Regions from separate parts of the Homo sapiens genome. Here all the other regions are linked to region 1. The links are contacts of gene promoters, found by promoter capture Hi-C in blood cells and fetal thymus (Javierre and others, 2016). All regions are on one chromosome and are shown on one strand. Each heading gives the region's core, a stretch centred on a gene start or on the middle of the fragment in contact. The rest is flanking DNA. Distances are from core to core; before and after follow the strand shown.

Evidence for each region. Contacts are between HindIII fragments. The CHiCAGO score rates a contact against its expected background, and 5 or more counts as called.
Region 2: a contact is called between a fragment that was not itself captured here and the fragment with the promoter of CATSPER1 in region 1, in 2 of 17 cell types (total B cells and naive B cells). The highest score is 5.7, in total B cells.
Region 3: a contact is called between a fragment that was not itself captured here and the fragment with the promoter of CATSPER1 in region 1, in 1 of 17 cell types (naive CD8 T cells). The highest score is 5.9, in naive CD8 T cells.
Region 4: a fragment that was not itself captured here is called in contact with the fragment with the promoter of CATSPER1 in region 1 in 1 of 17 cell types (naive CD4 T cells); the score reaches 5.3 in naive CD4 T cells.

The regions. Positions count from the first base shown.
Region 1 is chr11:66,025,229-66,028,520 of GRCh38, reverse strand. CATSPER1 (cation channel sperm associated 1) reads left to right here and starts at 2,042. Exons shown (of 12, transcript NM_053054.4): 1 at 2,042-3,292. The coding sequence starts at 2,142. The HindIII fragment of the contact is 12,999 bases long and covers 59-3,292 here.
Region 2 is chr11:65,602,043-65,605,033 of GRCh38, reverse strand. All of the region lies in intron 8 of MAP3K11 (mitogen-activated protein kinase kinase kinase 11), which reads left to right. Among named protein-coding and RNA genes, the nearest start is that of KCNK7, 7.7 kb to the right of the region's middle. The HindIII fragment of the contact is 152 bases long and covers 1,614-1,765 here.
Region 3 is chr11:65,756,631-65,759,677 of GRCh38, reverse strand. No RefSeq gene overlaps it. Among named protein-coding and RNA genes, the nearest start is that of AP5B1, 23 kb to the left of the region's middle. The HindIII fragment of the contact is 6,177 bases long and covers 1-3,047 here.
Region 4 is chr11:65,739,306-65,742,466 of GRCh38, reverse strand. No RefSeq gene overlaps it. Among named protein-coding and RNA genes, the nearest start is that of RNASEH2C, 20 kb to the right of the region's middle. The HindIII fragment of the contact is 8,139 bases long and covers 1-3,161 here.

The DNA of each region.
Region 1 (3,292 bases), core at 793-3,292:
AGCAGCCACTATGGACATGGCTCTGACCAAGCACTCAAGAAGCTGAGACCCATAAGCTTCCAGAAGAGCTGCGCTGTGCACATATGAATTCAGCATACAGGGCAAGCTCTGCAGTGGATTCCAGGAGGAAGACAGGACAGCATGAAGGTTACAGATACAGACTTGGAGTGAGATAGCACTGACGGTAAGTTTTCATTCATCAAGCAACTCATTTATATTCTCTGAGCCATAGCACCTTTGTCTGTCAAATGGGGATAAACAATATCTACCATGTGGGGCTATTGTGAGGATTAAATTTAATGTGTATGGGCCGGGCACGGTGGCGCATGCCTGTAATCCCAGCACTTTGGGTTGTCGAGGCGGGCAGATCGTTTGAGATCAGGAGTTCGAGACCAGCCTGACCAACAGGGTGAAACCCCATCTCTACTAAAATACAAAAGAAGTTAGCTGGGCGTAGTGGTGCACGCCTGTACTTTCAGCTACTTGGGAGACTGAGGCAGGAGAATTGCTTGAATTCAGGAGGTGGAGGTTGCTGTGAGCTGAGACCATGCCACTGCACTCCACCCTAGGTGACAGAGCAAGACTGTGTCTCAAAAAAAAAAAAAGAAAGAAAGAAAACAAAATGTGTATGAAGCAATCCTCAATAAATGATGGCTGATAGTTTAATTTTGGTAATAACCCTAAAGGGGGGTTCCAAGATCAAGAAGAGAATAATAATGCCAATTAACATGTATTGGCCAGGCATGGTGGCTCACACCTGAAATCCCAGCACTTAGGGAGTGCGAGGTGGGTGGATCATTTGAGGTCAGGAGTTCAAGAGCAGCCTCGTCAACATGGTGAAACCCCGTCTCTACTAAAAATACAAAAATTAGCTGGGTGTGGTGTGCACCTGTAGTCGCAGCTACTAGGAAAGCTGAGGCAGGAGAATTGCCTGAACCCAGGAGGCAGAGATTGCAGTGAGCCAAGATTGCACCCCGGCACTCCAGCCTAGTGACAGAGTAAGACTCTGTCTCAAAAAAAAAAAAAAAAAAATTAGCCGGGGTGGGGTATGGTGGTGGGTGGCTGTAATCCCAGCTACTCAGGGGGCTAAGGCAGGAGGCTCACTTGAACCTGGGAGGCAGAGATTGCCATGAGTGGAGATCATGCCGCTGCACTCCAGCCTGGGTGACAGTGAGACTGTCTCAAAAAACAAAAACAAAAACAAAAAAACATGGGCTGGGCGCAGTGGCTCACACCTGTAATCCCAACACTTTGGAAGGGCAAGGCAGGCGGATCACGAGGTCAGGAGATCAAGACCATTCTGGCTAACATGGTGAAACCCCGTCTCTACTAAAAATAGAAAAAGTTAGCCGGGCGTGGTGGTGGGCGCCTGTAGTCCCAGCTACTTGGGAGGCTGAGGCAGGAAAATGGCATGAAGCTGGGAGGTGGAGGTTGCAGTGAGTCAAGATCGTGCCACTGCACTCCAGCCTGGGCGACAGAGCGAGACTCCATCTCAAAAACAAACAAAGAAACAAACAACAACAACAACAACAAAAACCATGTATTATGCTGTTAATATAAGGCTTACATATCTTAACTTTTTTGATCCTGTGGGCTAGGTATTATTATTCCCATTTTACAGAGGAAGAAACTGAGGCACGGGAAAGTTCAGCAACAAGCCCAAGGTCACACACCTACTTATGAGGGAGTCAGGCAGTCTTCACCCCAGAGCCAGCTGATCTCTAGATGGGACTGAAGACTGGACCACTTGGACCATTTTCTTTCCAACAACAGGGCTAAAGTAGCTGATGAAGCCATGGCGCCCCCATGGACTTCTTTGTCCAGCTTTGCCAGTGACCTGTGAGGTCACCTTGGTCTAGTCCTTCCCTTTTCTTGACCTCGGTTTCCTCATTTACAATGAAGGAGTTTGACACAATAATTCTTGATTCCGAACTATAGCCCAGGAAGAGGCATTTGGGAATGAGGCCCTGGCCTGCTGGTGACATCATAGAGGGGAGAGTTCCACGAGAATAGTCAGGCCTTTCTGGAAGCCCAGTGCCACAGTCTGCATTGAGCTTGGCTCAGGAAAGAAGGGAAATCCAGGCGGGGCCTGTTGGGCCCAGGTCTTGAGCTCTTTTGGCTCCAGAGTTCCCAGCACAGTCATGGATCAAAACTCAGTGCCTGAAAAGGCTCAGAATGAGGCAGACACCAATAACGCAGATAGGTTCTTTCGCTCTCACTCATCACCCCCACACCACAGGCCAGGCCACAGCAGAGCTCTCCACCATTACGAGTTGCACCATCACGGCGTGCCCCACCAACGTGGTGAATCTCACCACCCTCCGGAGTTCCAAGACTTCCACGACCAAGCCTTGTCCTCCCATGTCCACCAATCTCACCACCACAGCGAGGCACGGAATCACGGCAGAGCCCATGGCCCCACAGGCTTTGGTCTGGCTCCCTCTCAAGGCGCCGTCCCCTCCCACCGTTCCTACGGTGAGGACTACCATGATGAGCTCCAACGTGATGGCAGGAGGCATCATGATGGGTCCCAATACGGTGGGTTCCATCAGCAGAGTGACTCCCATTACCATAGGGGGTCTCACCATGGCAGACCCCAATATCTCGGTGAGAATTTATCCCACTATTCCTCTGGCGTGCCCCACCACGGTGAGGCTTCCCACCATGGTGGGTCCTACCTCCCCCATGGACCCAATCCCTACAGTGAGTCCTTCCACCACAGCGAGGCTTCCCACCTTAGCGGGCTCCAACACGATGAGTCCCAGCATCACCAAGTCCCCCACCGTGGCTGGCCCCACCATCACCAAGTCCACCACCATGGCAGGTCCCGTCATCATGAAGCCCACCAGCATGGAAAGTCTCCTCATCACGGAGAGACCATTTCCCCTCATTCCTCTGTGGGGTCCTACCAGCGTGGGATATCTGACTATCACAGCGAGTACCACCAAGGTGATCACCACCCCAGTGAGTACCACCATGGCGACCATCCCCACCACACACAGCACCACTACCACCAGACCCACCGGCACCGAGACTACCATCAGCACCAAGACCACCACGGCGCGTATCATTCCAGTTACCTCCATGGCGACTACGTCCAGAGCACTTCCCAACTCTCTATCCCACACACATCCCGGAGCCTGATTCACGATGCCCCCGGCCCTGCTGCTTCTCGTACAGGAGTCTTCCCCTATCACGTAGCACACCCACGGGGCTCGGCTCACAGCATGACTCGGTCCTCCAGCACAATCCGCTCACGTGTCACCCAGATGTCCAAAAAAGTCCATACCCA
Region 2 (2,991 bases), core at 440-2,939, 420 kb after region 1:
AGCTCAGAAGCTTTCACTTGAAGAAAGGGCTTCTCACGTATAGACTGCTTAGGAAGCCAGAGGGTCAGGCAGAAGGCAGGGCTCCAGCATTGCAGGGAGGAGGGCTCACTCAGCTCAACACTGCCCAGCTCTGAGTGAGGCCAGAGAGTTATGGCCTCCCTTGCCTGTGGGTCCCTGTGCCAACCTAGGGACCATCCTCAGAGCCCCCACACCTGCTGCTCACAGCCAGAATGTAGGACCCGCTTAGCTGCTCTCAGAAGAGTCCTGTTCAGCAAGCCGTTTAAACTCACTCCTCCCATCCCACCCAGCCCATCGCCTCTTCCATTCCCTGAGCTACACTTGATAGTTGTAACAACAGCTAACCTTTGTTGGTTCTCTTCTATGTGCCAAGCAGTTCTGTGAGGGGAGTAGTAGTATTGGCCTGCATTTTACAACAGAGAAAACTGAGGCACAGAGAGATTAAGTGGTTTGATGTAAGGCAACCAGTAGAGCAGGGATTTGATCTGCTCTTGCCTGTCTGACCACAGAGGCAGAGCCCTGGGCCTCCATCTGCCCCGCCATTTGCTACTCCAGCAGCTGCACTGCCCCCAGCATCTGTCCTGCAGGGACTGAACTGAGAGCTGGAAGGCCAAGGAGGCTTCTTGAATTCACTTGCTCTAAATTGTACCAGGCCAGATGGGCCAAAGGAGAACTTGAGAGCCTGTCAACCCAGGTGTGTAGGCTGAAGCAGGTCCTGACTGTTCCACAGAACTCTCTGGCCCTCAGCTCCCAGAAGCAGGGGCACAAGGGGCCTGGGCCCCATCGTTCTCAAGCTTGCCCCATGTTTTTTTATCCAAAGAATTTGTTAATTATTTATGAAGAGAAACTACTTATTAGCCCATATATTCATGAATAGTTCAGATCAGTGACAAACTTCTAAGTAATTCAACCCAAAGAAATTCTTCATATTCCAAAATCACTTTGCATTCTGAGAGATAGCAGCCTTCCTCATCTCCTCGAAGTATTTCATGGCATCATAACTTCTGTAGACATCTGTGCCCATAGAAATCTGAAATGCCTTCTTTCTTGGTCCAGCCCCTGCAAACTGAGAGAGCCGCAGCCCCCAGGGATACAGTGAATGCTCCCACAATATGAAATTGCAGATGTGTGGCCAGAAGGCCACATGTCTGAGGTTTCATGAAAGCACTGGAAACCATGGTAGTTACTGTTCTTGATAAGTATGTCGGCCTCAACACCAGTGCCCTTCCTGGCTGATGAAGAAATGGATTGCCACTTGCCCTGAAAGGATGTCAGCTGCCCAGCTCAGTGGCTGGCTGAGCATCTGGTTCCCCTAGCCCAATCCCACACTCCACGCATCATCTGGGTCCATGAAAGTACATGACATTGACCTCACAGCCACCCCCCGAAACCCAGCTAAGAATCAAATAATGGGGCTTCACAGAGGTCCCAGACCCTGTGAGATGGTCCCCGGCATAAGCCATACCACTGGAGAGTCACACACACCCTCACCCTGTCCCCAGTGGGCTGTTCTGGTCCCTGGAGAGCTGGCTGCAAGGAGTGGCACATTGGCAGGGTGCACTCAGCTACGCTGATAGCAACTGCCCTGTGAAGCTTGTTGCCTTAGAGCCAATAACTACGTGGCTGTGTCCTCCCTGTGAGACCTCACGGAAGCAGTTTCGCCTCTATCTATCTATCTTTGGGTCAAGAATAGTCACGCAGCTTTCTCCTAAACAACAGAGTTGCTAACTCTTGCTGCCAGGAAGCTTAGAGGCAGATTCAAATCCTAGCTGGATTATGTTGACCAAGTCCCTTACCCTTCAGAACCTCAGTTTCTCAGGCCATTGACTGCAGGAACTTCTGTTCACTCTCATTTTGTCTGCTGGACCCTATCTTCTCTTCCCTTTGTCTCATTTCTGTCTTTTATTTTTTTAAAGATAGAGTCTCATTCTGTTACCCAGGCTGGACTGCAATGGCATGATCATGGCTCACTGCAAACTCTGCCTCCCAGGCTCAAGTGATCCTCCCACCTCAGCTTCCTGAGTAGCAGGGACTACAGGTGCATGCCATGCTTGGCTAATTTTTATATTTTTTGTAGAGATGGGGTTTTGCCATGTTGCCCAGGCTGGGCTGCGCTTAAGTAGTCCACCCACCCCAGCCTCCCAAAGTGCTGGCATTACAGGTGTGAGCCACCACACCCAGCTTGCTCTTGCTATTTTCTTTTTTTTTTTTTAGAAGGAGTCTTGTTCTGTCACCCAGGCTGGAGTGCAGTGGTGCGACCTCAGCTCACTTCAGCCTCCACCTCCCACGTTCAAGCAATTCTCCCTCAGCCTCCCCAGTAGCTGGGATTACAGGCATGTGCCACCATGCCCAGCTAATTTTTTTTTTTTTGAGATGAAGTGTCATTCTGTTGCCCAGGCTGGAGGGCAGTGGTGCAATCTCGGCTCACTACAACCTCCACCTCCCAGGTTCAAGTGATTCTCCTGCCTCAGCCTCCCAAGTAGCAGGGATTACAGGCATGTGCCACAATGCCCGGCTAATGTTTGTATTTGTAGTAGAGATGAGGTTTCACCATGTTGACCAGGCTGGTCCCGAACTCCTGACCTCAAGTGAGCCACCTGCTTCAGCTTCCCAAAGTGCTGGGATTACAAGCGTGAACCACCATGCCCGGCCTAATTTTTGTATTTAGTAGAGACAGGGTTTGACCATGTTGGCCAGGCTAGTCATGCACTCCTGACCTCAAGTGATCTGCCCTACTTGGCCTCCCAAAGTGCTGGGATTATAGGCTTGAGCCACCACTCCCAGCCTCTCTTGCTTTTTTTTTTTTTTTTTTTGAGATGGAGTCTCACTCTGTCACCCAGGCTGGAGCGCAGTGGCGGGATCTCGGCTCACTGTAACCTCCGCCTCCTGGGTTCAAGCGATTCTCCTGCCTCAGCCTCCCAAGTAGCTGAGACTACAGGTGCGTGCCACCATGCCCTGCTAATTTTTGTATTT
Region 3 (3,047 bases), core at 202-2,701, 270 kb after region 1:
CTTCAATGGGTGAATGGTTAACAAATTTTGGTACATCTGCACCATGGAATACTACTCAGCAATAAAAAAGGAACAAACTACTGATACACATGACAACCTGAATGAATCTCCAGGGGATTATGTTGAGTGAAAAAAAGGTAACTCTACAATATTACAAACTGTATGATTCCATTTATAGTCCATTCTCAAAATGACAAAAATCGTAGACGTGGAGAACAGATTAGTGATTGCCAGAGGTTAAGGAGTGGGTGTGAGTGAGAGGGAAGTGATCATGGAAATGATCAGTATCTTGACTGTATCAATACCAATATCCTAGTTATGATATCATACCATAGTCTTACAAGATGTTATTGTTGAGGGAAACAGGTTTAAGGGTAAAGAGATCTGTATTAGTACTTACAACTACATGTGAATAAAAAGACAACTGATGAAATGGGAGAAAATATTTACAACAGACCAAGGGCTAAAGAACTCTTAAAACTTAAGGAAAAAAAAACAATGATCATCTCAACTGATGCAGAAAAAGTATTTGATAAACTCCAACCCCCTTTCATGATAAAAAATTTTTACTAATTAGAAATAGAAGAGAGCTTCTTCAACATGATAAAAGGCACTTATTAAAAAAATCTCGGCCGGGCGCCATGGCTCACGCCTGTAATCCCAGCACTTTGGGAGGCTGAGTCAGGCGGATCATGAGGTCAGGAGATCGAGACCATCTTGGCTAACACGGTGAAACCCCGTCTCTACTAAAAAACACAAACAATTAGCCAGGCGTGGTGGCGGGCGCCTGTAGTTCCAGCTACTTGGGAGGCTGAGGCAGGAGAATGGCGTGAACCCGGGAGGCAGAGCTTGCAGTGAGCCGAGATGGAGCCACTGCACTCCAGACTGGGCAACAGAGCGAGACTCTGTCTCAAAAAAAAAAAAAAAAAAACTCATACTCGGTGGTGAAAGACTGAGAACTTTTTGCCTAAGATCAGGAATAAGACAAGGATGTCTTTTTTTTTTCTTTCTGTCGCCTGGGCAACAGAGCAACATCCTGTCTCAAAAAATAAAATTAAATTAAAAACTCACTGCAGCCTGGATCTCCCTGGGCTCAAATGATCCTCCTACCTCAGACTCTCAAGTAGCTGGAACTACAGGCACAGGCACACACCACCATGCCTGGCTGATTTTTTTTTTTTATTTTTAATAGAAATGAGGTCTTCTGTCCAGGCGCAATGGCTCATGCCTGTAATCCCAGCACTTTGGGAGGCCGAGGCGGGTGGATCACAAGGTCAGGAGATAGAGACCATCCTGGCTAATACGGTGAAACCTTGTCTCTACTAAAAATACCAAAAAAATAGCCGGGTGTGGTGCCCGTGAACCCGGGAGACAGAGCTTGCAGTGAGCCAAGATCACGCCACTGCACTCCAGCCTGGGTGACAGAGTGAGACTCCATCTCCAAAAAAAAAAAAAAAAAAAGACAAAAAAGAAATGAGGCCTCACCATGTTACCCAGGCTGGTCTAGAACTCCTGGGCTCAAGCAATCCTCCCACCTTGGCCTCCCAAAGTGCTGGGATTACAGGCATGAACCACCGTGCCCAGTGGATGTCCACTTTTTTGTTTTTGTTTTTGTTTGTTTGTTTTTGAGACGGAGTGTCGCTCTGTCGCCCAGGCTGCAGTGCAGTGGCGCTATCTCGGCTTACTGCAAGCCGCCTCCCGGATTCCCACCATTCTCCTGCCTCAGCCTCCCGAGTAGCTGGGACTACAGGAGCCCGCCACCACACCTGGATAATTTTTTGTATTTTTAGTAAAGACGGGGTTTCACCGTGTTAGCCACGATGGTCTCGATCTCCTGACCTCGTGATCCACCTGCCTCGGCCTCCCAAAGTGCTGGGATTACAGGGGTGAGCCACCGTGTCCGGCCTGGATGTCCACTTTTAACACTTTTACTCAACACTGTCCTGGAAGTTCTGGCCAGAGTAATTAGGTAAGGAAAATAAATAAAAGGCATATAGATCAGAAAGGAAGAAGTAAGAATATCTCTTAAAAGATGACGTGATCTTTTATGAAAAAGTCCTAAAGAATCCACAAAAAACTAGTAGAGTTAATAAATGAACTCGGCAAAGTTTTCGGATATAAGATCAATAGGCAAAAATGAATTGTATCGCTATAATATATGCTAGCAATGAACAATTCCAAAAGGAAATTACAAAAACAATTACATTTATAATAGCAGCAAAAAGAATAAAATACTTGGGAATAAATCTAATTGAGGAAATACAAGAGTTGTATACCAAAAATTAAAAAACATGCTAAAAGAAATAAAGAAGACATAAATAATGGAAAGACATTCATGTACATGGATTGAAAGACTTAGTATTGTTAAGATGGCAGTAATCCCCAAAGTAATCTATAAACGCAATGCAATCCCTATGACAGTCCCAATGGTCTTTTATGAAGAAATGGAAATGCTGATCCTAAAATCCACATGGAATTGCAAGGGGTCCTAAATAGCTAAAACAATCTTGAAAAAGAGCACTCCTCTACAGAAACAGGCAGATCTGCTAGGCAGAATATCAGTAAGGATGTAGTTGAATTCAACAGCACTGCCAGTTAACAGAATACAGTTGACATCTAGCCGGGCGCGGTGGCTCACGCCTGTAATCCCAGCACTTTGGGAGGTCGAGGTGGGTGGATCACGAGGTCAGGAGATCGAGACCATCCTGCCTAACATGGTGAAACCCCGTCTCTACTAAAAATACAAAACAAATTAGCCGGGCGTGGTGGCGGGCGCCTGTAGTCCCAGCTACTGGGGAAGCTGAAGCAGGAGAATGGCGTGAACCCGGGAGGCGGATCTTGCAGTGAGCTGAGATTGCGCCACTGCACTCCAGCCTGGGTGGCTGAGCAAGACTCTGTCTCAAAAAAAAAAAAAGAAAAAAAAATTTTAAGAAAGAATACAGTTGACATCTATAGAATAGTTCATCCCACAACAGCAGAATACACATTGTTTTCAAGACCAAATGGAATATTCACCAGATAGACCACATTCTGAGCCATAAAACACA
Region 4 (3,161 bases), core at 182-2,681, 290 kb after region 1:
CAACTTGGAGGTTACTGTCTCTTTCCTAGAAAGTTCTAAATAACTAGCCCCTCAATTTGAATTGACTCACGCCTTAATTTGAATATAATTGAAAATGCATTTAAGTGAATATAAACACAGTTGTCAAGACCCCATACATTTCTTTTTTTTTTTCTTCTTTTTTTGAGATAAAGTCTCACCATGTCATCCAGGCTGGAGTGCAGCGGTGTGATCTTGGCTCACTGCAACCTCCGACTCCTGGGTTCAAGAGATTCTCCTGTGTCAGCTTCCCAAGTATCTGGGACAGGCACCCGCCACCATGCCTGGATAATTTTTGTATTTTTAGTAGAGACGGGGTTTCACTATGTTGGCCGGGCTGGTCTTGAACTCCTGACCTCATGATCCACCCAACTCAGCCTCCCAAAGTGCTGGGATTACAGGCGTGAGCCACCATGCCTGGCATTTTTTGTTTTGTTTTGTTTTGTTTTGAGACGGAGTCTCGCTCTGTCGCTCAGGCTGGAGTGCAATGCACCATCTTGGCTCGCTGCAACTTCTGCCTCCTGGGTTTAAGTGATTCTACTGCCTCAGCCTCCCGAGTAGCTTGGATTACAGGCGCTCACCACCACACCCAGCTAATTTTTGTATTTTTAGTAGACACGAGGTTTCAAAATGTTGGCCAGGATGGTCTGGAACTCCTGACCTCAAGTGATGTGCCTGCCTCGGCCTCCCAAAGTGCTGGAATTACAGATGCGAGCCACCATGCCTGGCCAAACCCATACATTTCTTACTCTGGGTGCACTGCCAATGAGTTAGTCATGGTCTGCAAGGAGCAGCACCATTCAGTAAAAGTTGCTGCTGTCTAACACCACTGGCTCACCCTTGAATTCTTTCCTGGGTGAAGCCAAGAACTCACCCAAGCTCAGCCCCAGTTTTGGGGCTTACCTGTCCTGTATCATCTGGTGACCACAAAGACGACAAAGACAGCAGAGATGACAGCTATTGGTGACTGGTGAAGTGGCAGTGAGATAGTGGTGACCAGCGATCAGCAGAGAAGTGATGTGACAGCAGAGACAGCAGCAATCAGTGGACAGATGGTGAGAGACAGTGATTGACAGTGAGACTGGTGATCCACGATTGGCAGAGAGGTGAGACGATGAGAGACAGTGAGAAATGGCGATCAGCTAGACAGAGATTGGCAAGGCGGCGGACAGGGAAGGGGCAGCAATAAGAGAGAGGCAATGAGAGGCAGCAAGACAGCGATGAATGAGAGTAGGTGAGATGGTGATTGGTGCTACAGCAATACAAGCTGCAGAGCTGTAAGACTAGCCAAAGGCTCTTTTAAGAGCCATTACCTTTCCTGGCAGGCAGTGGAGCCAAGTAGGCAGGTGAGCAGCCACAGAGCCACTGCCTTGTGTGGGACCCACCACTCTGACCAGCAGATCACTGGCCTGTGCGCCAGTACCCCCCATGGTAGCTGAGCCTGTTCAAGCTGAGGAAACTTGGGGAGGAGCCCTTAACCCAGGCCCCAGGTTGGAGACTGACTAGTCCATTTTGGCTCCTGCAGATGGGTGACTGTCCCCTCTGCCCCTTGATATTGAGTAAGCCAGGAAATAAGGCTTTGGGCATCTTAGATTGTCATTTCAAAGTCTCCCATGGCATACCTGACCAACTACGTCCTTGTCACTCCTTCTCTCGGTCCTTTCCCTAACATCTTTTCATTTTTCCATTGCCATTTCATTTATTTTTTATTTTAAATATTTTTCTTTTTCTTTTTATTTATGTATTCATTGTTTGAGATGGAGTCTCACTCTGTATCCAAGCTGGACTGCAGTGGCATGATCTTGGCTCACTGCAACCTCCACCTCCTGGGCTCAAGCGATCCTCCCACCTCAGCCTCCTGAGTAGCTGGGACCACAGGTGCATGCCACCACACTTGGTTAATTTTTTGTATTTTTGGTAGAGACAGGGTTTCACCATGTTGCCCAGGCTGGTCTCGAACTCCTGAGCTCAAGCAATCCACCTGCCTCAGCCTCCCAAAGTGCAAAGATTACAGGCATGAGCCACCATGCCCAGCCTTTTATTTTATTTTAATTTTTTCTCTGAAATGTATGTTTCATTTGTAGTTTTTGCTTTAGTTCCCTGATAAACTATTTGGGCAGTTGTTTAAGGCAGAACACTTGTCTTTGAGAGGTCCCCTGTTGTGTTGACCCTGGGACACCAGAGTCATGTTGTTCTGTGGCCCCAACCAGGCCTTTGAGGTTCACTGCTGGCTGCCCCCTGGGCACTCCAAGGGTTTTGGTATTGGTACTGTCTCTCAGGATTGTGGGATAGAGGCCCACCCTAGGGGAATCTCAGTCTTGCCTTTTCTTGTTTTCTGCCTTAAAGTTAAAGTTATTTTCTGTAACAGCATTTTCTTTTCTTGTCACTTCATTTACACTTTTCCTTCTACATTTTGCTTGATAAAAATACTTTCTTTGTCGTACTTCATCCACTGGAAAATGCCTATAATCCACTTTCATAATGCCTTGCTTATACCTCTGCAGGAAGTGAGAATCTAAAAGGGAAAAATAATGAGAGCCCAGTTGTTTTCCCTCTCACTAGACTTAGAAAAACCTCTGGCCAGGCGCAGTGGCTCACGCCTGTAATCCCAACACTTTGGGAGGCCAAGGCGGGTGGATTACTTGAGGTCAGGAGTTCGAGACCAGCCTGACCAACATGGTGAAATTCCATCTCTAGTAAAAAAATACAAAATTAGCCAGGCGTGGTGGTGCACGCCTGTAATCCCAGCTACTCAGGAGGCTGAGGCAGGAGAACTGCTTGAATCCGGGAAACGGAGGTGGCAGTGAGCCAAGATTGTGCCATTGCACTACAGCCTGGGCAACAAGAGCGAAACTCCATCTCAAAAAAAAAAAAAAAAGAAAAAAGAAAAAGAAAAGAAAAACTTCTATGTCCAGTATAAATCCTTGTTAGACATGGAGACAATGATGAACATCCCAGAAGACTTACCACTAGGGTGTCTTTTAGGCTGTTGGAGCAAATTCAAATTCAACCTAAAGAAAAAGAAACTCATTTTCTATTGTAGCACCACTTGGGTCCAAAACAAATTAGAAAACCAAGAGATTTGGCCTAATATATAGATTTGGTTCTATATATTGTGACGCTATTTTACAATTGGACTTATT